7 separate regions of the Homo sapiens genome follow, and regions 1, 3, 4, 5, 6 and 7 are each linked to region 2. The links are contacts of gene promoters, found by promoter capture Hi-C in blood cells and fetal thymus (Javierre and others, 2016). All regions are on one chromosome and are shown on one strand. Each heading gives the region's core, a stretch centred on a gene start or on the middle of the fragment in contact. The rest is flanking DNA. Distances are from core to core; before and after follow the strand shown. Region 1 overlaps CASR (calcium sensing receptor). Region 2 holds the start of IQCB1 (IQ motif containing B1). Region 3 holds the start of CSTA (cystatin A). Region 4 overlaps CD86 (CD86 molecule). Region 5 overlaps CASR (calcium sensing receptor). Region 6 overlaps CASR (calcium sensing receptor). Region 7 overlaps CASR (calcium sensing receptor).

Region 1 (2,858 bases), core at 77-2,576, 400 kb before region 2:
GAATGCTCTTCCACCCCTCTGACCTGTGCCTCTTGCTTAATTCATTTCTCTTCATCCATCAGGGATGAGGCATTCTTCAGGGATCCTTCAGTGGCTCAAACACCACTTCTCAAGGAAGCCCCTCCTGGTTCTCCAGGCCTCACTCTCGTGCTCTCTGCATCTGCGTGGCACTTCCCTGCCACAGTCCCTCTTGCTCTTTATGCAGCCAGGGACCTGGTCTGTCTTGTTCATTGCTGGCATACTCAGGACACAGCAGACACTTAATGAATGGCTGCTTCACTTCAAGCCCTGTGGAGGTTCTATCACTAGAATTCTTTTTATAGTACAATAAAAAAAAGGGATTGTGAATCTTTTCTTGGGGTTGCAATATAAACTTACAGTCCAGTTGCAAGGAAAGAATACAACAAGCTGAAGTAAAACTGCTGAGGTGTTGCAAGTAGCTGGAGGGTGAATCTGATGATCCCATCCCCACGTCGTCCTTCCTGCGATGGCTATCTGGACATGCGGGTGTGCTGGAAAGGCCAGTGCACAGCCAGGAGCCCTTCACACCCCTGAATCACAGAGAGGTCTTTGGCTCAGGGGTGACTGTAATCTGAATCTGCCTATCGGTACTGCTCAAGCCCGTCGGTATTTACAATGTTAGAAGAGAATGCAAGGTAAATTGTTTAGTGTGAAAAAGGCTATAAAATGAGATAGTCCTGAGAGTTCTTTGATTTTTTTTTTTTTTGTGAGTGGGAGGGGGGTAATGGGTGTCTTTGAGATGCTGATGAAAATTGTGGCTGCTCTTTCCAGAAAAATGCACATATGCACATAATTTCTTCCAATTCAGATGTTTCATGTACCAGAAAGGCAAGGTTAAGTGACTAGCACGAGATTACAGAGAGATAGAGAAAGAATGGAAGATGAGTTTCCTTATTCCCCATTTAGTAACCTTTTCCTTATGTGCCTCTGTCTCCTCATTGTCCACACAGGAATAACAATAGTACGGTTGCTGTAAGGATTATATTAAAACAATACTTGTAAGAATTTAGCATAAAGTCTACCACATAGTAAATGCTCAAAAAACATTAGCTCTTCGTATGATGGTGATAGTGTCCCCCTCTCTCTTCCCAAACAGTGCCTTTACTAATTGAATTGATCAGCATGATGACTTGCCACCTCCTGACCAGTCCTAGAATGCCTAGTTTAGCCCACTCGTGGGATGGCCACCTTCAAACAGCAAGTGTATGATGCTGAGACAGGACTGGGGCAGAAAGTCAGGTAAGCCACCCAACAGGTGGGCCAGAGGAATGGTGTCCTCTGAGACTGGTTAGCATCCTGTCTGCATGGTGGATGGGATTAGCTGCAGGACACACTTCTCACTTCTACAAGGGGATCATGATCATGACACTTTCTGATGTCTCTAAAGTGACTGCAGGTGGATGATGACCCTCAAAAAGCTGCAAAAATTCTGAGTGGATGGTAAGCAGAACACACAAGAAGATCCTTAGGGGACAGATGAGTTTCAGGTGTCAAATGCACAAATCCCTGATTCTTTAAGTATCAATCCGATAGGTCAATACAAATATTTGGAAGCAGGTTTGCAAAGAAACTAAAAAAAGAGAAACCCCCTTTGGCTGAAGAAGTCTAGTGGAGGGGACAGAGAAGTAGAAGGGGCCAGGATATGGTGGTTCTAGTCCCCACCTAGCTGCTCCTCCTTGGGACAGCTGCTTCCTTCTCTGGGCTTTGGTGTCTTCTCTTGTAAGATGACCAAGTGGTATCACGGGCTTGGTGGGTCCCAGGAAGCCCCTTCTATGCAGGTGGAACCTCAGTGGAAGAGACTGGATTTGGAAGTGGGCTCTCTTCCTGGTTCCTTTCCAAGTCCTGCTCAGGTGAGAGGGTCTTCCTCCTCCCTCCCATCCCACCTCCCACCTACAGAGATGGGTTCAGCCGCTGCCCTGTTGCAGGGGGTGGGGGATGGTGGCGCAGAGAGGGGAAGCCCCTCAGGGAAGGAGGTTGCTTTCTCCACGGTCAGCAGCATCCCCGCCCCCGCTGCTCCTGCGTCCCTCTCACGCCCGCATCCGCTGCAGGCCAGGCTGTGCTGGAGCAGAAAGATCTAGGCTCGATTTTCACCCCGGATGTGGCGGCAGCGTCAGCAAGGAGGAGAGGTTGTTTTGTAATGCGTGGCGCTAAAGGAGCGTTTTCCCTGGACTTGGGTTCTGGCCCTCACCGCGAGGCGTCATCGCTGCCTTTGCTTTACTGGTCCATGCGAGTGACTCCTTCAAACAGCTGCCGGCAAGCCTAGGCTGAGCTTGCAGGATCTCGTCCCAATGTCCCAGACTCTACCAGGGGTTATTGATAACTTAAGACCAGAAACACCAGAAACATTTCTGAGCAGAATGAATACATGATTAGAATCCAATACTGTAATGCCGGGGCCAAGAAGGCATCTCAGAATATGTTTAGTACAAATCTTCCATTTTACAAATAGGTAAACTGTGGCTCAGAAACAGGAAGCAGCTTGCCAAGTCACAGGCCACACACTAGCAGTGTTAGCAGTAGAACAGAAATGTACAGTCTCTCATTATTTCATAGTTTACTTGGTTAGGAATGGGAGGCTTCCTTTTTTATTTATTTATTTAAAACAGAGTCTCACTCTGTTGCCCACCCAGGCTAGAATGCAGTGGCACAATCTTGGCTCACTGTGGCTTCCACCTCCCAGGTTCAAGCAATTCTCCTGCCTCAGCCTCCCGAGTAGCTGAGATTACAGGTGTGTGCCACCATGCCCAGCTAATTTTTGTATTTTTAGTAGAGGTGGGGTTTCACCATGTTGGCCAGGCTGGTCTCGAACTTCTGGCTTCAAGTGATCCACCTGCCTT
Region 2 (2,700 bases), core at 147-2,646:
AACTAAATTGTCTACAACTTAAATAAACTTTTGGGAGAATGTATGCTTTAATTAGTTGTTTTGATTGAACCATGGAACATTTCAGAGTAAAAACCATAAAGGTCTCTAAACAACCCGAGAACAGAATGACTGAGAAAGGCGGAATGATGAGATATTAAGGAAGGGCAAGGCTGGGGAAAGGAAGTGAAAAAATACTTACAGTTTTACCACAGAAAAATGAGAAGTTATAATTCAGTGATCTTGAAGTTTCCTTCCCGCTCTACAATTCTATGACAGTTGTTATGCAAAAAACGAATGTCTTACACATAAAAACTTATATGCTATATTTTCCTTCCTGGAATCTATATCATCCAACTGCTAAAGCAAAAGAGCTCCTTTTTCTACTCCAACAACATAAAAGAGAATAATTTATTAAAACTAGTTCCAGAGGACATAAAGAAAACCAAAGGGTAGAAATCATAGGGAGGTAAGCATCTTCCAAATAAAGAAATTAATAACACACCCTCGAATACTTTGATAATCAGTATTTGATAACTGAGTGAAATCTGGGGTCCAAAGAGATATACAGATCATTGGGATGGTTGAGAATTTCTCCCTTTGCAAAGAACACACCAAATAAGAACCCTCATCTGCCAGAGGTGAGAAAAAGTGATGAAAAGAGAGAATATTGCCCCACCAGCCTCAAGGCATTCAAGTTCCCCGGCATTCGGTCCTTAGTCCCTTCCCATTTGTCACCTTATTATTTTCCTGTCCACCCCTGCATCATCCACCTGTCACGTCTGTCTCCACAGTCACCTCTACAGACTTTTTTCACACTTTCCCTTCCTGTCTGCTGGTCTCAACGCTCTCTGTCCAGGGTTTACCCACATTTGCTCTACTCCGATTCCTTCCACCGACCCCCTAAGACTCCGAGCAGGTTAGAGGATCGCGCTGCCTCCCCCCTCCCCGCCCCGTAGTCTCCAACAGTGTAAGGGGTACTGTGGGAACAAAACCCAGAGGGGTTTGTGCCTCTTCACCCCCATCCCGGGAGGCTCCCCCTCTATCCCCGGATGGTCCTCACTCACAGCGCACAGTGTGGAAGGCGCAGCGCGGCTGCTTCTCGAAACTCTCCCCTAACTTGAGAACCCGCTCGCGACGGTCTAGGTGTGAGAATCCCGCTGCGCTATTCATAATTACTCTCCTGCTTTGACTTTAACTCCGCCACCAGCGCTCACTATCTGCCACCTCAGCCTGAAGCAGCTGCACTTGATCCCGCCAGCCAAGTCACCCAGACTCCACCCCGCGCTCGACGCGCACCGCCCCACCGGAGCGTCTCACGTTCTGATTGGCTTATTAGCAAAGGGCGCTCCGCCCCTTGACTCCGAGGCTCCTAGTCCCGCCTCCAGGCCCCTTCCCGCGTCGCGACGCACGCTGCCCCGGAAGGCCGCGGCGCTGTAGTGCGGCGTGGGAGCCCCAGGTTCTTTAGTGGAAGAACGCGAAGCGAGGATGAGGTAACTTATCTGAGGTGGTGGCTGGGGAGGGAGAGGGCCCCAGGGCGCCTACCAGGAGGCCAGGACCCCAGGCTCCTGGACGAAGTCAGCCGGCTTGTAAGAGCTCTTAACGGGAGAATCGGCCTGCCCTCACGCCCACTCTGTAGAGATCTGGTGTGGAAACTGAGGCCTGGGGAGGTGCAGTGTCCAGGCACAGGGCCTAGTGTCTTATCCAAGGCCTGGTAGCGCGAAAGCCGGGTCTAGAATCTGGAGTAAAGGAGCCCAGAGGCCCCAGAATCTCGGTCCTTAGACTTGAAGCGACGCTGTTACCTCAGTAATCGTTTTCTGACCTTTTTGTACCAGAGGAAGTTTCTTGTGGTCCTAGGACTGGAGAAGGGGATGTGTAGTGGGGAGGAGAAAGAGGATTCGGAGATAGCAACTGCAGACATTTAGGATCAGCCGCAACAGGATCGCACTGAATTTCCTTTTCATTTATTTTCCTCACAGTGATCCGTGGAGGCAGTAACAGGCGCGGCGAGGGAGAAGTGATTCCCGAAGAATCAAGGCTGGGCCGGACCCGGTGGCCTGGCAACAGGGTAGTAGCCTTAAAATAGATAAATAATTGTCTTTTTGTGTCAAATTTCATGAATTTAATGTAAAGATGGGAGAAGTGTTGAATTATAGGAGAAACACTCGAGAAAGTTTACAGATGGTTTCCATAACAGGTGGTTTTTCAGGGTAATTACGCAATCCAACTGCACTCCCTCACCTTCTGCCTTAGGCACATTTGTCAATTGATTTTGGGGTAGGTGGTTATGTCTCCTTCAACCTGTCTGTGTAAATCCTACCCTTTGAAGGTGTGCCGAAGCTGTTTCATATCGTAGTTAAATGCTTTAAGGCAGATGGTGGCTCTAGTTTGAACCCCTGCTTTATACTTAACAGTGTGACTTTGTGCCAGCTAATTACATTCTCCAGAGTTTAAGTATGCTCATTGTTCAAATTGGGAAAAAAATAATAGTATCTGTTCCTTAGAGTTGTTGGAATGATTAAATGAGTTAATACATGAAAGCAATTAGAACAATTCCTGGAGCATGATAAGAGGTCTCCAAATGGTTATTTAAGGCCCAGCTCTACACTTATACTACATTTTAAGACCATCTTGGTGGCTGCCTTCTCTTCTAAATAGAATCATTCTAGGAGGTAGGAATTGCTATTTTGTTTACAGCAAGAA
Region 3 (2,700 bases), core at 197-2,696, 490 kb before region 2:
CATCTCCCAGGAAAAAAGCTCCAAGATATTTATTTAAAAAAAGAACTCTTGAAAGAGAAATAATTAGTCCCCAAGAATGAGTGATGGGATTCTAGGCATCTGGCCCCTTAGAGAGCTTTCTAGTTCCCAGAATATACAGGATCCCAACTCTTATAATCACACAAAAAGCTGATCTTGTTTTCCAAGCTGTCATAGAATGATGTTTCAGAGAGAAAAAATAAGAAGGAATAATATAAGAAAATAAGGCAACAAACTAAAAACCTAAAGTAGTAATTTGTACATGTTTTCCTTTCATAAAATATGCAAATAAATGTTTACTACATAGCTAGATGATAGCTAATCACACAAAGAAAAATATATCAGGGATGGGTGTGGTGGCTCACGCCTGTAATCCCAATACTTTGGGAAGCCTAGGTGAGTGGATGGCTTGAGCCCAGGAATTCAAGACCAGTCTAGCAACAGAATGAAATGCCATCTCTAAAAACAAAACAAAACAAAACCCCCCAAATCAGCCAGGCGTGGTGGCATATGTCTGTAATCCCAGCTACTCAGGAGGCTGAGTGGGGAGGATCGCTTGAACTCAAAAAGTTGAGGCTACAGTGAGCCGTGATCAGACCATTGCACTCCAGCCTGGGTGACAGAGTGAGACCCCATCTCTTAAAAATGAAACAAAACAAAACAAAAAAGAAGAAGTGAAAAACACATCAATCTGCTAACAACATTGAGTTCTATTTTTCCATATATAATTTGGTGCCCTATGACATTTCGGAGTCACTATAGACTGTCACCTCTGTTCTATTAGTTGAATTACCTTTTAACTATGAAAAGACTAAAACACTATCTATTTGGGCAAAAGTGTATGAAGTTTGTAAGTAGATTGCCTTTACAATATTATTCTTCATTCAATCTATTTAAAAAAATTTTCCCTGCAGTGCATTCCAAGACTACTTCATCAAATTGTTAATAACCTTAGACTTCAATTACACGTTGGCTTCACTTGGTGAGATTAGAAAAGTTTCATCAGAAACTGAATTAGTAATTCTAGAATCATATCTTGTAAGAGCTTTAGAGAAGATACAATACAAATTCTTTTACCCATGGAGAAAATGAAGCTCAGAGAAGAAATGTGATTTGCTCAAGGTCACACTCACAGTTTGGGGATTATTTGAGGCTTCATCTGAAAAACTCTTATTTCATCTTAGTTGTAAAGAAACCTGAACAAAGCCACAAACATCCTAAACTTCTGGTTTTCATGTTCAACCACAGCCTTTCCACAGGGACAACTTATGAATCAAGATTTTGGCTCAGACTTTTTCCTGAATGGCATCAACTCACCTTATCAACAATCTCCTGGATTTCTGGAGTGGCGGGTTTGGCCTCAGATAAGCCTCCAGGTATCATTTTGGCTGATTGCTTCTTTGCTGGACAGGATGCTGGAACCAAAGTGAACAGGGAAGTGTGGAGACTCGTGTTTTAAAAGAGGCGTTCACTAGCTCCGCCTATAGAATGCTTTATTTTCCACAAACAGCAAAGAGGCATGGGGAAAATGAGTATGCCGCCAGGCAAGTCTTCTTGCTTCCTGGAGAGAATATGCTACATGGAATTTGGAAGAAAGAGGGGTTGGAGGATGAACAAATGGGCAAGTACAGGAGTCATGTCCTAACAAGCATCAAACGTCCCTGCATTCTCTTTGACAATGGTTCCATCCTGTTGCATCATCTGAATTATGAAATCTGAAGCCGCAACTAGAATTTCCAAATGTTTTAAAACTTCTAACACAAAATTTTATTTTTTTTAAAGCAAAACTTACTAATAATGTCAAGGTTAGTTTAGAATTTACTTGACTTTAGAAAGAAAGCAAAAGGATCTATCTGGAGGACCTTGGCTGGATGTGTCTTCTTTACTCTTATTTAAATATCTGGAAATGTTTAACATACGGTAAAACACAAAGAATAAAATAACAAACATCTATATTTCTATCACTCAGAATTAAAACTTTTAACCCTTTTGTCATATTTGCTTGCTGTTTTTTATTTTTGTAGTTATTTTTAGGAAATAAAATATTACAGATATGGAGGAAGCCCCACACCCCACGCAACCTTGCCTTCCAGAAGGCAAAGTACATGGTGAATTAATATCCTTCCAGGCCATTTTTATATGTGTGTCTTTAAAATTAAAATATGTCTTACTTGGTGTGTCTTTAAAATTTCACTTAAATTGTATGCTAAATATATTCTATGTTATGTTCCTTTTTCTATTCAACATGTTTTTGAGCCTTTCTATGTTGATATACACATAGATCAATCCACAGATAGATCAATCCTGTTCATTTCCTTTAACTGTGATATGCTATTTTATGCTAGACCTATCTATTTAGTCTACCTATCTAATTGCTATATTCTAGTTCATATTTTACATACTCATTTCTCTATTGATGACGATTTTCGTTGTTTCTGGTGTTTCATTCTTACAAACAACGTTGCATTTTTTCTCCTTTTTACATGAGTGAGGGCTTCTGCAGACAACTTATCTAGAAGCAAAATGGCCACATTGTGTGAATATTTATGTATATTATTTTATTCAATTTTGGGAATATATAATACATACACAGGATAAAAATGTTTGGAAGGAACCAGGCTTTACAATATAAGGAATTATTCACTCACTTAATTCCTCAGACACCCTTCTACTCTCCAGAGA
Region 4 (2,700 bases), core at 201-2,700, 270 kb before region 2:
TGCACGTGCAGTCATTTGTGCCGTGCCTGCTATCCTGCCCCCCTCTGCAGTCAGTTCCCAGGCCCTGAAGTTCCTCTCGTGATGATTCTTCTGTCCACTATAATCTCCAGACACCTCTCACTTGGACAAATGGAACAGCTTCCACAGGCCCCTACCTCTAGTTTTCATTTGCTTGTTTGTTTAGTTTTTTCCTACTGAGGTCACAGCAGGTTTCCTCTGCATGGCTTTCAGCATATCTCATCTACTGAAAAACCTTTGATGTTTCTTCATGCCTTGAGGAACCTTCACGCCTTCAGGAACTACTTCCTTACATGAGAACTCCTAAGTTTCTGGGGAGTTGGAAAACAGGCTTTGTGGGGAAAACTTAGAACGGAGTCGCCCACTTTAAAGACATTTTTGGGAACAGTTCTGGTAGCTAATCCCAAATTTCAGGAAAATTAGGACCAGCTGATCTATTAGCTTAGCTATAATTTGTAGACACATGCCCTGTTTCTGGGATGTTAAGAAGTTGTTGGCATTGCAGGCCATATTTAATCCCTTTTGAGTCTGTCCCAGTCTATTCCACTTGAGCCAGTTTGGCACTCCCAGTAAAGGGGGTTAGGGGTTATACTTACTAACGTGGAGGCTGCTACCTTTTAACATGCAAAAAAGGCCCCTTGACTCAGGGTCTAACCTATCTCTGATCAAGCGATAGAATGGGAAACCCAGAGAGGCAAGCCCCATCTTCCTGAGGCAGCTAGAGCTGAAACATTTCTGAAGATGGGGGTACCTGTTGAAGTTTGGCAGAACAGTAGTTGAGAAGCAGCAGGAAGGTGAGCCATGATGAGGTTATAGTGGTGGCAAGCCCCTGTTAATTTGTAGACTATGGGAGCCGTAACAGAGGGCCCTGGGGCATGTCATATATGGCCATCTTGTGGCCACCAATCAAACTAATTACACATTGAAGGAGGTACTGAACTTCAGGCATAGCTTGGAGAGGCTTCTATCTGGCCAAGAGAGGATACAGGAGAAGCAACTGGGACAGGACGAGTTGGCTCCACCATTTACTGGATTCTCAGAGGCTGAAGTGTCTGAATAGGAAGAAGTCAGTAGCAGGAGATGAGATTGGCCCAGTTGTAAAGTTGGTTCATGGGGACTGGCCCCGTGGGCTGTTCACAGACCAAGTTATATCTGAACAACAAGACACTGGGAGAAAGGAGGTGACAAAGCCAGGGTATGGAGCAAGGAGTTGGATGGATGTCACTGGAGGGGGCAAGCCAAGAAATCACCGCTGGAGAAGGGGTCAAGGTAAGAAGAAGGCAGATGTGGGTGTCAAGGTCAGCACAGGCAGTGATGGGACAGGGTAGATGCAGACCACCTTTATTCCAGGAGGGAATCTTGCAGTTACAGCTTCTTAAAAGAGGAGTCAAATATAGACACATGCCCTCCTGGGTAAAGCCAGGACTTTAAAATGTCAGGCTCCTATTAGTGGCTACTGCTTAGTTTCAATCCTTTCCTCCACTGAACTTGTCCCTGAAGAATACTTGTGAACACACAAGCATTTCTGCCTCCAAGGCTTTCTTTGACATACCTCCTGCACTTACGTCAGATACAGCTGATCCACTGTGGTCCTCTCACCTGCTTAGCCCAGATACTGTCTCAAATTTTTTCAGCTACGGAAGTCACCACAGTTTTGGGAACCTGTCATCCAGAATGCCCTCCCCTCCTCACCACATTTATTAACCCCAATAATTTATTTTACATGTTACAAGGTACCCCTTCCTTTAGGAACCATTCCCTGACCCTCAGGGATCTTGCCTACCTCTGAATGCCCATAAATCTCATTACCAGTCACTTTTATTTTAAATTTAGTCAGATATTTCCATGGAATAAAATTTAGATTCCAATTCAACCTTTTAAAAATCCAGTTTTTCATGTGTGCACATTACAGGGTTCTGATTCTATTGGAAGGTCCTCAAGGGCAGAGGGGGTGTCATATCTTTTTGTTTTCACTCCTGTGACCAATAATGTCCCAAATGGTTCTATACTCACAATAAATATCATTTGTATGTCTGCATGTATGCATGGTGTGTGTGTGTGTGTGTGTGTGTGTGTGTGCAAGCGCATGTATGTGTTGTAATCAAAGAAAGAATTCTAGCCTGGAGGAATCCTGTATTTTTAAATCAAAACTTCAGAATCCTCCATCCAAAGGTAAACCAAGAGACTGAGTCAGTTTCAGGGCTAAAAGCATATTTCTTCAAGTGCAACATAGGCTCGTAGCCTCCTGGACCCTGCATCACTCAGGAGAAGCAGGAGACCTCCATCTGGGTCCTTCCTAACAGCGTCATAAAATGGCCCAGTTGGAGGTTTCCTAGCAAGTCGGGGACATTGGATGATCTGCCTTAAGCATTTGTGTATAATACCTGCTGAAAGAAATAGTCTTGGAAAACAGCTTTACCTATAGAGAAAGGTGAAGATAAAAGCCGCGTCTTGTCAGTTTCCAGAATACAGAAGATGGTCATATTGCTCGTAACATCAGGGAATGAAACAGACAAGCTGATGGAAACGTCGTACAGTTCTGTGACATTATCTTGAGATTTCTGCATAACACCATCATACTCGATAGTTGAATTCTTGGTTCTTAGCAAAACACTCATCTTCTTAGGTTCTGGGTAACCGTGTATAGATGAGCAGGTCAAATTTATGTACACATTTTCTGTT
Region 5 (2,700 bases), core at 201-2,700, 450 kb before region 2:
TGGGTGGGGGCCGGTGCCCTTCCTAGGTGGGGAGCAGGCACCTCACTTGGGTCATCCTGAGTCACCACCTTCTGCTCACAGTCGCGCTCCCACATGGTGCCCTCTAATGATTTCTCATTATAATCTTAACAACTATCAAGTCCACCAATTTGCCCTACAAATCACTGAAAGGCGCCCCTTTGGAAGAAAGTGGTCAGGGGAAGAAGTCACCAAGAGCTGTAAAATTTGAGGCTTCAGGAGATTTAATTGCAATGGTTTGGCCTCAGCTTAGAACCTCCTGCTAGACTGGTGATGGTCTTCCCTGGATGCTGGAGGTCCAGGCCCTGACACTGCGGAGACAGGGCATTGGGCCACCTGAGGGGCTGACCAGCTTTCTGGCTTCCTCACCATGAGCCAGTGATACTATGGCTGACCCCATGTGTTGGGCCCAGAGCTCTTGGGCTTATTACAGAGAGAGTGATTGTGATCAGTGGGCTAGGCAGTACAATCTGAATGGTTAATATGTATGTTTTGTTTTGTATTTGAAGTAAGGGAAAAAATAATTATTACAGTATCAGTAATAATATTAACTAATATTTATTGAATGCTTATTGTGTGCTAGGTACCAGGCTAAAGTACTTTATATACATTATCTCGTTTAATCCACATAAGAGCTCTGAGGGGAAAGAATGATTATTATCCTTATTTTAAAGATGAAGAAGCTGTGGCTTAGAGAGGTTAAGGTTCCCTGCCTACAGTCACTCAGCTTGCAAATGACGAAGCCATGGCTTGAACCCCGGTCTGTCTCTCTGGCTCCAGAGCCTGGGTGACCGGCAGTATTAATACCACTGCTGGAGGGAACATAGCTCTGACATTTGAGGGTGGATCTTTCTTGGAACCACGCTTTCCTACCCTAGCAGCTATTAGCAGGCCAATAATTGAGAACTTACTCTGTACAGGGATAGGGTGGATCTGGCTTCAGGAATTCTTTGGGGTAGAGATGGGAGGGACTTCTGGACCCTTGAGTCCCTGAAGGGGCTCACATAAGGCTTAGCTTATGGGAGTGAGGATAGTGGGGTGGGGAAATAGAGCTCAATAATACTGCCTTATATAAACCAGACTGACATTTTTCAGTTTATATTGTCCATGGACTATTACAACAGAAGCATTTTCCTAAGGATAAAGCTACATATAGGAATATTAATTACAGATACAGCTCATTGGTTTATGCAGTCCCTTCCTAACAATTTGAGGTGATTCTTGTGATCCTGGAATCTAAACATGGCATCAGTATCATGTCCTGGACAGAAGCAGACATATGGTATAGGAGGGGTGCAAACCTTCTGGATGTTACATAATAGCAGCAGCAGGTAGGAGACAAAATATCATATGGTTTTCATAAATAGGAGGAGATACATTCTCCTTATGTTGTGAACATTTAAAATTCAGTCTGTTGTCAAGGCATTGGGCAGGACTGGTGACATTCTGTCTTTCAGACTCTCAGCTCTAGTGGTGGCAAATTTGATGTCCCATCAGTCTGCACACTCTGGAGGGTAGTTTAAAGCCATAGTTTCATCTCTGAGCTGTTGGGTGGGATAGAACAGAGGAAGAGACATTAGATGTGGGTGAACAGCAAATCTGACCGTGGAGATCTCAATGCTTTGACAAATGCAACCACAGAAACACAAGGCTCTTCTTTTTTTTAATTTTAAAGGGAACATGGGTCAATTCACTGTCATTTAAGATGGTGTGACTAAATTCGGGGCATTTGATGTGTCTATTATCCCTTCTTCCTCAGAGGAAAGGAGTCTGGGGCGATTCCTCTTCCCTGGGACCCCAAGAAACCTCTCTGCATTCTCCCTAGCCCAGTCTTCTCCTTCCATTTTATGAATTCACTACGTTTTCTGTAACAGTGCTGCCTCCACCACTGATGACAAAGCTCTGTGAACTGGACACTACAAGTGCTGGGGACAACTCTTCAGGGTCCTCCACCTCTGGCCGCTGGTCTCCACCCACAGGTCCTTGCAGACCTGTTTCCTGGACGGTCAGATCTAAGTCCGTTTCCCCGCACTGCAGCGGGAGTAATGGCTCGTGTCGGGTCAGCGTATCGCTGCTTTTCTGGGCCTCCAGGGAGTTCTGGTGCGTAGAATTCCTGTGGGCCATGGCGTTCTTCTGAGGCTCATCAAAGCTCAGTGAGAAGGTGACCGTGCCGCTGCCAAAGATGACCTTCTGCTTGCATCTGGGCTGCTGCTGAGATCGTTGCTGCTGTGGGAGGGTCAGGGGCTGCTGCTGCTGCTCTTGCTGGGTTAGGGCCAGCGGCTGCTGCTGCTTCTGCCTCTCGGGCTGTGGGAATGGGTCTTCGCTGTTGCTCTTGCTGCTGATGGAGGAGGAGGGGGTGGATCCCGTGGAGCCTCCAAGGCTGCTGGACCGCTTGCGGGAGACGTTGCTGCGGCGCAGCGTGGCCCGGGCAGCCACCTTGAAAGCGTGAGCTGCGGTGCTGCAACGCACCTCCTCGATGGTGTTGCGGGATGGCTTGAAGAGAATGATGTAGATCTTGTTGAAGAAGATGCACGCCAGCAAGCCAAAGCTGGCTGCCAGGATGGCAATCACCTCTACGGCAGAGACAAACTTGCCATAGGTGCTGGCATAGGCTGGAATGAAGGAGATCCAGACGATGAAGAAGATGAGCATGCTGAAGGTGATGAACTTGGCTTCATTGAA
Region 6 (2,860 bases), core at 304-2,803, 430 kb before region 2:
CTGGGACTACAGGTGCCTGCCACCACACCCGGCTAATTTTTTGTATTTTTAGTAGAGACAGGGTTTCACCACGTTACCCAGGCTGGTCTCGAACTTCTGACCTCATGATCCACCCACTGTGGCCTCCCAAAGTGTTGAGACTATAGGTGTGAGCCACTGCCCCTGGCTTCTTTTGCTTTTAAAAAGGAACTGACAGTTCCTTTTAAAATGAAATATAAAATTTTACTTGAGATTATTATCCAATATTATATGCTTCCAAATTATTTATTTTATTTGGGGAGTAATATGAGGAAAAAGAATAAACGAAGGGGAAGAGAAACAAAAAAAGCTAGTAGAAAGATCCAAACATAGGAGTACTGCTTGAACCTGGGAGGCGGAGTTTGCAGTGAGCCAAGATCGGGCCGCTGCATTCCAGCCTGGGTGACAGAGCAAGACTCTGCCTCAAAAAAACAAAACACAAACAAACAAAAAGATCTGAACATAGAACATAACATACAGACACAAAGAGACTTACAGGCTCACAAAGAAAACACCACCAAGAAAGACACATAGATCTAAAAGAGGGGCAAATACAGGACATGCATGCACTTAGAAGCTAACATACTCTTTTATGCCATAATATTCCCATCTTGTGGTCTTTTAGGGTATTTCCCCTAAAAGATTTTAAAGTCAAACGGTTGCTCATTATAAGCATAAATGGAAATCACCTCTTGGCACACATTCTTAGTAGCGTCAATTGAATTAAACTGAACATTAGAGACTAGAAACCCCCCCACTCTGGTCTAGGACTTCCAGCTCTTATACAGATAATGAGGGCCAGGTCACACAGATAATGAACAAGATAATGAAGTTCATTATCTTGCCCAGTTCCTGTGGTAAGAGCATGGGGAAGATCCAGGCCCAATTCCCTTCTCTAACGCCAGCCATGTTTTCTTATCTCCCTTCCATCTTCTCTGGCTGTCCTCACAATTTATCCCCCATTCCCCAACTTCCAGCAGTACCAGGAATTCCTAGAAAGATCAGCTCCATCTGACTTCCATCTTCACCATGGCTGCACGCCTGTTTTCTGACTAGTGAGTGTTGGTGTGAGGTGCAGGAGAGTAGGAAGCACACCTTGTGCATGATCATCCTGAGAGAAGAAAGAAGGTGATTTCATACTTACATGATGTTCCACTCAAACTTGATAGTGGGCACGTGACCAAAGCTTGTCCAAACAGAGCCTAGAATACCTTGGCCACAGTGATTGATTCAAGAATGGGTTGTTGGCTCAAACGGTTCCCTGCAAAGGCCTATAGGTAGTGTTGACAGGTCAAATCAACTAGACTGCTATTCACTCATTCATTCATTCAATGAATATTCCAGCGACAGGCATTCTGAACATAGTACTGAACAATACAGGCATGGTTCTGGATCTTATGAAGCTTAGAGTACAGCAAAGGAGTAGTGAAGAGAGAGCTGGGAAGGGATGTGAGGAGGGCTTGGGGGTCTCCAAGAAGAGGTCAGGAGGCAATTGTGAGTTGTATGCTCATAAATCACCTGCTAGTGCTACTTTTGAGGCATATGAGTTGACTGATAAATATTTTTTTGGGGAGAAAGAAAGGAAAAAAATTGTGATTGACCCTTATAACCAGAATTTTAACTAATAAGTGTCTATTTCAGTCAATTAAAGAGCTGTGGAAGCTTAAGCTGGGTATATAAACATCAAAAATGAGGAAGCGAGAATGATCAGAAAATGTGTTGTGGGAATACGATTTGAAAAGACTTCCAGGGGAAAGTGGATTTTGAAAACAATTTAAATGTTCCTGGTGGAAAATGACAGCAGAGATAAAAATTGATGGCCCTTCTGGTGTGGGCTATGGCCTATGCAAAGATGCTGTGCCAAAAACTAATGAGTGATTTGTGAGGAGGTGTCATGCAGGTTGGCTTATAGGGGAAGAACTGAGAGAAGGCAGACATGGAGTTCCAGCTGGAGACTTGGATTAGATTATAGGTGATAAGTTTCCATATAGATCTTAATATTGAGAATGAATGAATAATTGCTAGTTGATTTCCTGATGAAGATATAGGTCTTAATAATGAGAATGAATAATTGCTAGTTCATCTCCTGGCCAAGACCTCAAATTCTGGAACGCCCATCCAACAGCCTGGGTTCCTGAGGCTCAAAGGAGACTCACACCAAGCACTCAGGACATTTTGGCCAATTTCCCATGTCATTCCTCCCTAGAGTTCTGATCCCATTTTCCTATCTGTGCTGTCTCCTGGGGAGATTTTTCCAGACCATGTAAGAGTCAGGAGAACATATCTTTACCTGGGCCATGGTTGGGTGAAGTGTCTGTGTAGTGGACATTTTGAATGTTGGCTGCTTTGCTTCTATTTCTTCCTCCTTTTGGTAATGGCATCCTGACTTCCCACTGGAGATTCACTCCCCCCTTACTCTAAGTCTATGTAGTCTGGAGGACTGCTAGCATCAGGGATGGATCCATGACTTAGGAATGGTCAATAAATGTGGTTTCTGGAACTTTTACAGGATATCTTGGGAAGTAAGGAGATCCTAGCTTCAAGCTGCTACAGAAGCTGAAAATTGCTAACCCTGGGGAATGAAGAACAGAAAGATGAGATGAAAATACCTAGCTGTACCTGGAACACTTCTGAGATTTTTAGTGACATGACCCACTCACTACATTTCCTCTTTTTTTGTTTATGCCAATTTGGTTAGGGCTTTCTATTACACAACTAAAAGTCCCAGTTGTGACTGTAGCCTGTCATGGCTTTTTTTTTTTTCTCACAGGTCCAAGGTCTGGTCTTGACCATCTGTATTTTATTTCCTTATCTGGAAGAGGAGCCATTGAAGAGTAGAACT
Region 7 (2,700 bases), core at 65-2,564, 410 kb before region 2:
AATAGTGATATTCTCTGGTGATTGCTGGGAAAGAGAATTAAGTCAAGGTGGGGACCAGAAACTTCATGAGGCCAAGGCCTGTCTCTTTTCTTCACCATTGTTGCCTAGCACCCAGCACAGCACCTGGCACAAATGATTCACAAATATTCGTTGAACAAATGTATGAAGTGTACACAGTAAAGACCAGAGGCTGGTTGGGCAATTCCTGGACAGGACAAGGAAGGGGTCACCCCACGAGACTGATGGTTCCTGTAGGCAGAGGCTTCTCCATGATCATAGCTGCATCCTCAGCATCAAACAAAGAACCTGGTACTAAATGGATGCTCTAAAAATGTCTGTTGAACTTGTTGTCCAAAGAGTAGCTACGTGGCTAATCCAAGTTCCGGAGTCAAAACAAGTTAACAGAGGATAGCAAAACAACGTCAGGAGTGAACACTGCCACATTTCAATTTTCTTCCAAATAAAAACCACCCCTACTCTCACCTCTTGGCCTCAACATTTCTGGAAATTGTGAATCTCTAGAGCAAAATGATTTTGCTCACATTTCAAATAGAGAAAACCCAGGCGCAGACCTTCTGAACATAAAATCACTCAGTAAATTAAAGGCACAGCAAGCTCAAAAGCTACTATTTTTGAATTCCTAGATGGCAAAAAAAAAAAAAAAATTCTAGGTTGCCTAGAAAAAAGAGAATTATAAGACCAAATTTGATTTCCAATAGAATTTATCTCCATAACGTGAGTACACTGCTATGTCTCTGGTTTATTGTACTGTAATCTTTACTCTCTTTCGTCACAATGATCATAAAGATACTAACAGTAGGGTCTGAAGCCACTATTGCAGAAAGGTGAAATGTGTATGTTTTAATGAGGGTGAACAGGAAAAATAAACCTGAAAAAGTTTAATCAATAATCACCAAACTCACGTGCCTGGCTGTAGTTGCAGCTTCCTTTACCTCTTGCTGAAGAGACATCCACAATATGGGTTTCTATACACAGCTGGTGCACATTTGCCAAAGAATTAGGGACTCTTACCTGCCATCACCAATACGGCCATCCCTAGTTCTATATCAGACTTCATTCCTTCTGTACCAAAGCAAGGCACATGTTGTTTTAAAATGAGGGCCCTCTTTCGGCACTGGGGGAAACACAAATTGCCCGGTCACCCTTGGCTGCCTCCCGCAAGCCCAAGCCCGGCTTCTGCTGTCTGCCTGCCAGCTGCACATGGTCTTGCCCTCCATCTCCCTGACAACAGGTGTGACTTTTGGGGAGTCCATGCCTCATTTAGTTCTGGTAATGGCTTAATTGAGTTGGAAAAATGCAAAGACAGGAGCGTAATGAAAAGCAGCTGAGCTGGGTGGGTTCTTGTGAGTCATTGGAAAAAGCTATCAGGGAAGGGAGGGAAAAGGATGAACAAGAGTGGTGAGGAGCAGCACAGGGCACAGAGCAAAGTGGGGAAACAGAAGCCTAGACAAAGCAAAGAAAGGCTGTAAATAGAGGAAGCTGACATTCATTAATGCTGCATCCTGAGCTCCTTGAAGACAGGGCCAGGTCTGTCCCATCCGCGGCCTGGAACATGGAGGGGCTCCATGATGATGGTTGAGTGGGTGCATACTTGTGTGTACTGCCGGCAACATAACAAACTCTGTGTCCACATAGGACTGAGTGAGTTGCTGGCGACATAGCCCACAGGAAGTTAAGAAACTTCTTGTCCTGAACTGTTTCCTTTATGCCTTAAGTCAGCTCTGCTGACGGATGTATGAACACCAACAGAGTTAATGAAATGGTTCATTTGAAAAGCGAAGATATGCAACTCATGTTTTTATAAAGAAAAATGCCAGAGCCTCAAGTCCTACATAAAAGAAACATTTCTGTGGAATAACATCCTGGCGTTGCCTCTCCAAATCATAAGGAACCCTGACTACCCAGGGTGGCATTTTTCAGTATGATGTCCCAAGATGTGTCACCAGGAAGTGTTCTGGGGTAAAACAAGTTTGGGAACTAATGTACACTCTGCCACAGGAGCACATATGCCTCCTTAAAGGCTCTGAGAAGTCCTGCAATAAAGATTATTGCTTATTTTGGTATGGGACACTTTTTTTCTTCCCTGAAGGACACTTTTCATGATGCCGTGAAACATGGGCTTGGAAGGGCTGACTGAGTGGAAAGCATAAAGTCTGTAATCTGAGATTCTCGCATTTGTTTAGGTGTATCTTTGAATGGGGAGATATGTCTGCCCCTCAATGGGCATAGCAGTTTTTGTAATCCCAGGTATGAAATTCCAAAGGGTATTATTGGAAAGAAGGACTCAGGTGGGGTGGGTGACTGCTGATGTAACTTTGAAGTCATTCTCTGGTCAGGCATATGTTTCTGTTCTCCGCTACTCCTGAGGGATGGGTTTCTATTGTACATAGAAAGTTGTACACTGAGCCTTTCCCCATCCACTTGCAACTCTCCTGACCTCACACAGTGTCTTTGTCTGAGGACCACTGGGGACATGTGGTGGTGTGCTTGTAGTCTGGCTTCTAAAAGAAAAACAAGACCTGACTTGTGGTGTATGCTAAATATTCCCACCATGGTCAGTTTCAAGCTACCAATGGTTTAACAACATATTTGTAAAAAATCTGAATATTTAACCATCGGCTCTCAAGCGCCGATAGAAGCCTGTTCTAGCACATCGTGGGGACATCTTTCTAAGCACAT

What was found. Contacts are between HindIII fragments. The CHiCAGO score rates a contact against its expected background, and 5 or more counts as called.
Region 1: a fragment that was not itself captured here is called in contact with the fragment with the promoter of IQCB1 in region 2 in 1 of 17 cell types (M2 macrophages); the score reaches 5.0 in M2 macrophages.
Region 3: the fragment with the promoter of CSTA here is called in contact with the fragment with the promoter of IQCB1 in region 2 in 2 of 17 cell types (monocytes and M1 macrophages); the score reaches 7.6 in monocytes.
Region 4: a fragment that was not itself captured here is called in contact with the fragment with the promoter of IQCB1 in region 2 in 1 of 17 cell types (M2 macrophages); the score reaches 5.1 in M2 macrophages.
Region 5: a fragment that was not itself captured here is called in contact with the fragment with the promoter of IQCB1 in region 2 in 3 of 17 cell types (M1 macrophages, M2 macrophages and M0 macrophages); the score reaches 7.2 in M1 macrophages.
Region 6: a fragment that was not itself captured here is called in contact with the fragment with the promoter of IQCB1 in region 2 in 4 of 17 cell types (M1 macrophages, M2 macrophages, M0 macrophages and 1 more); the score reaches 11.2 in M1 macrophages.
Region 7: a fragment that was not itself captured here is called in contact with the fragment with the promoter of IQCB1 in region 2 in 3 of 17 cell types (M2 macrophages, M1 macrophages and M0 macrophages); the score reaches 7.4 in M2 macrophages.

Annotation. Positions count from the first base shown.
Region 1 is chr3:122,229,628-122,232,485 of GRCh38, reverse strand. All of the region lies in intron 1 of CASR (calcium sensing receptor), which reads right to left. Among named protein-coding and RNA genes, the nearest start is that of CASR, 47 kb to the right of the region's middle. The HindIII fragment of the contact is 6,113 bases long and covers 1-2,858 here.
Region 2 is chr3:121,833,756-121,836,455 of GRCh38, reverse strand. It overlaps IQCB1 (IQ motif containing B1), which reads left to right and starts at 1,396. Exons shown (of 15, transcript NM_001023570.4): 1 at 1,396-1,490; 2 at 1,977-2,065. It overlaps EAF2 (ELL associated factor 2), which reads right to left and starts at 1,247. Exons shown (of 6, transcript NM_018456.6): 1 at 1,065-1,247. The coding sequence starts at 1,170. The HindIII fragment of the contact is 9,498 bases long and covers 1-2,700 here.
Region 3 is chr3:122,323,994-122,326,693 of GRCh38, reverse strand. It overlaps CSTA (cystatin A), which reads right to left and starts at 1,446. Exons shown (of 3, transcript NM_005213.4): 1 at 1,336-1,446. The coding sequence starts at 1,401. The HindIII fragment of the contact is 6,914 bases long and covers 1-2,700 here.
Region 4 is chr3:122,106,238-122,108,937 of GRCh38, reverse strand. CD86 (CD86 molecule) reads right to left here. Exons shown (of 7, transcript NM_175862.5): 4 at 2,438-2,700. Among named protein-coding and RNA genes, the nearest start is that of CD86, 52 kb to the right of the region's middle. The HindIII fragment of the contact is 7,908 bases long and covers 1-2,700 here.
Region 5 is chr3:122,284,355-122,287,054 of GRCh38, reverse strand. CASR (calcium sensing receptor) reads right to left here. Exons shown (of 7, transcript NM_000388.4): 7 at 1-2,700. The coding sequence ends at 1,864. Among named protein-coding and RNA genes, the nearest start is that of CSTA, 40 kb to the left of the region's middle. The HindIII fragment of the contact is 4,595 bases long and covers 1-2,700 here.
Region 6 is chr3:122,264,031-122,266,890 of GRCh38, reverse strand. All of the region lies in intron 4 of CASR (calcium sensing receptor), which reads right to left. Among named protein-coding and RNA genes, the nearest start is that of CSTA, 60 kb to the left of the region's middle. RefSeq lists a silencer at 1,703-1,804. The HindIII fragment of the contact is 259 bases long and covers 1,424-1,682 here.
Region 7 is chr3:122,246,574-122,249,273 of GRCh38, reverse strand. The region is part of intron 1 of CASR (calcium sensing receptor); the gene reads right to left. Among named protein-coding and RNA genes, the nearest start is that of CASR, 64 kb to the right of the region's middle. The HindIII fragment of the contact is 3,946 bases long and covers 1-2,700 here.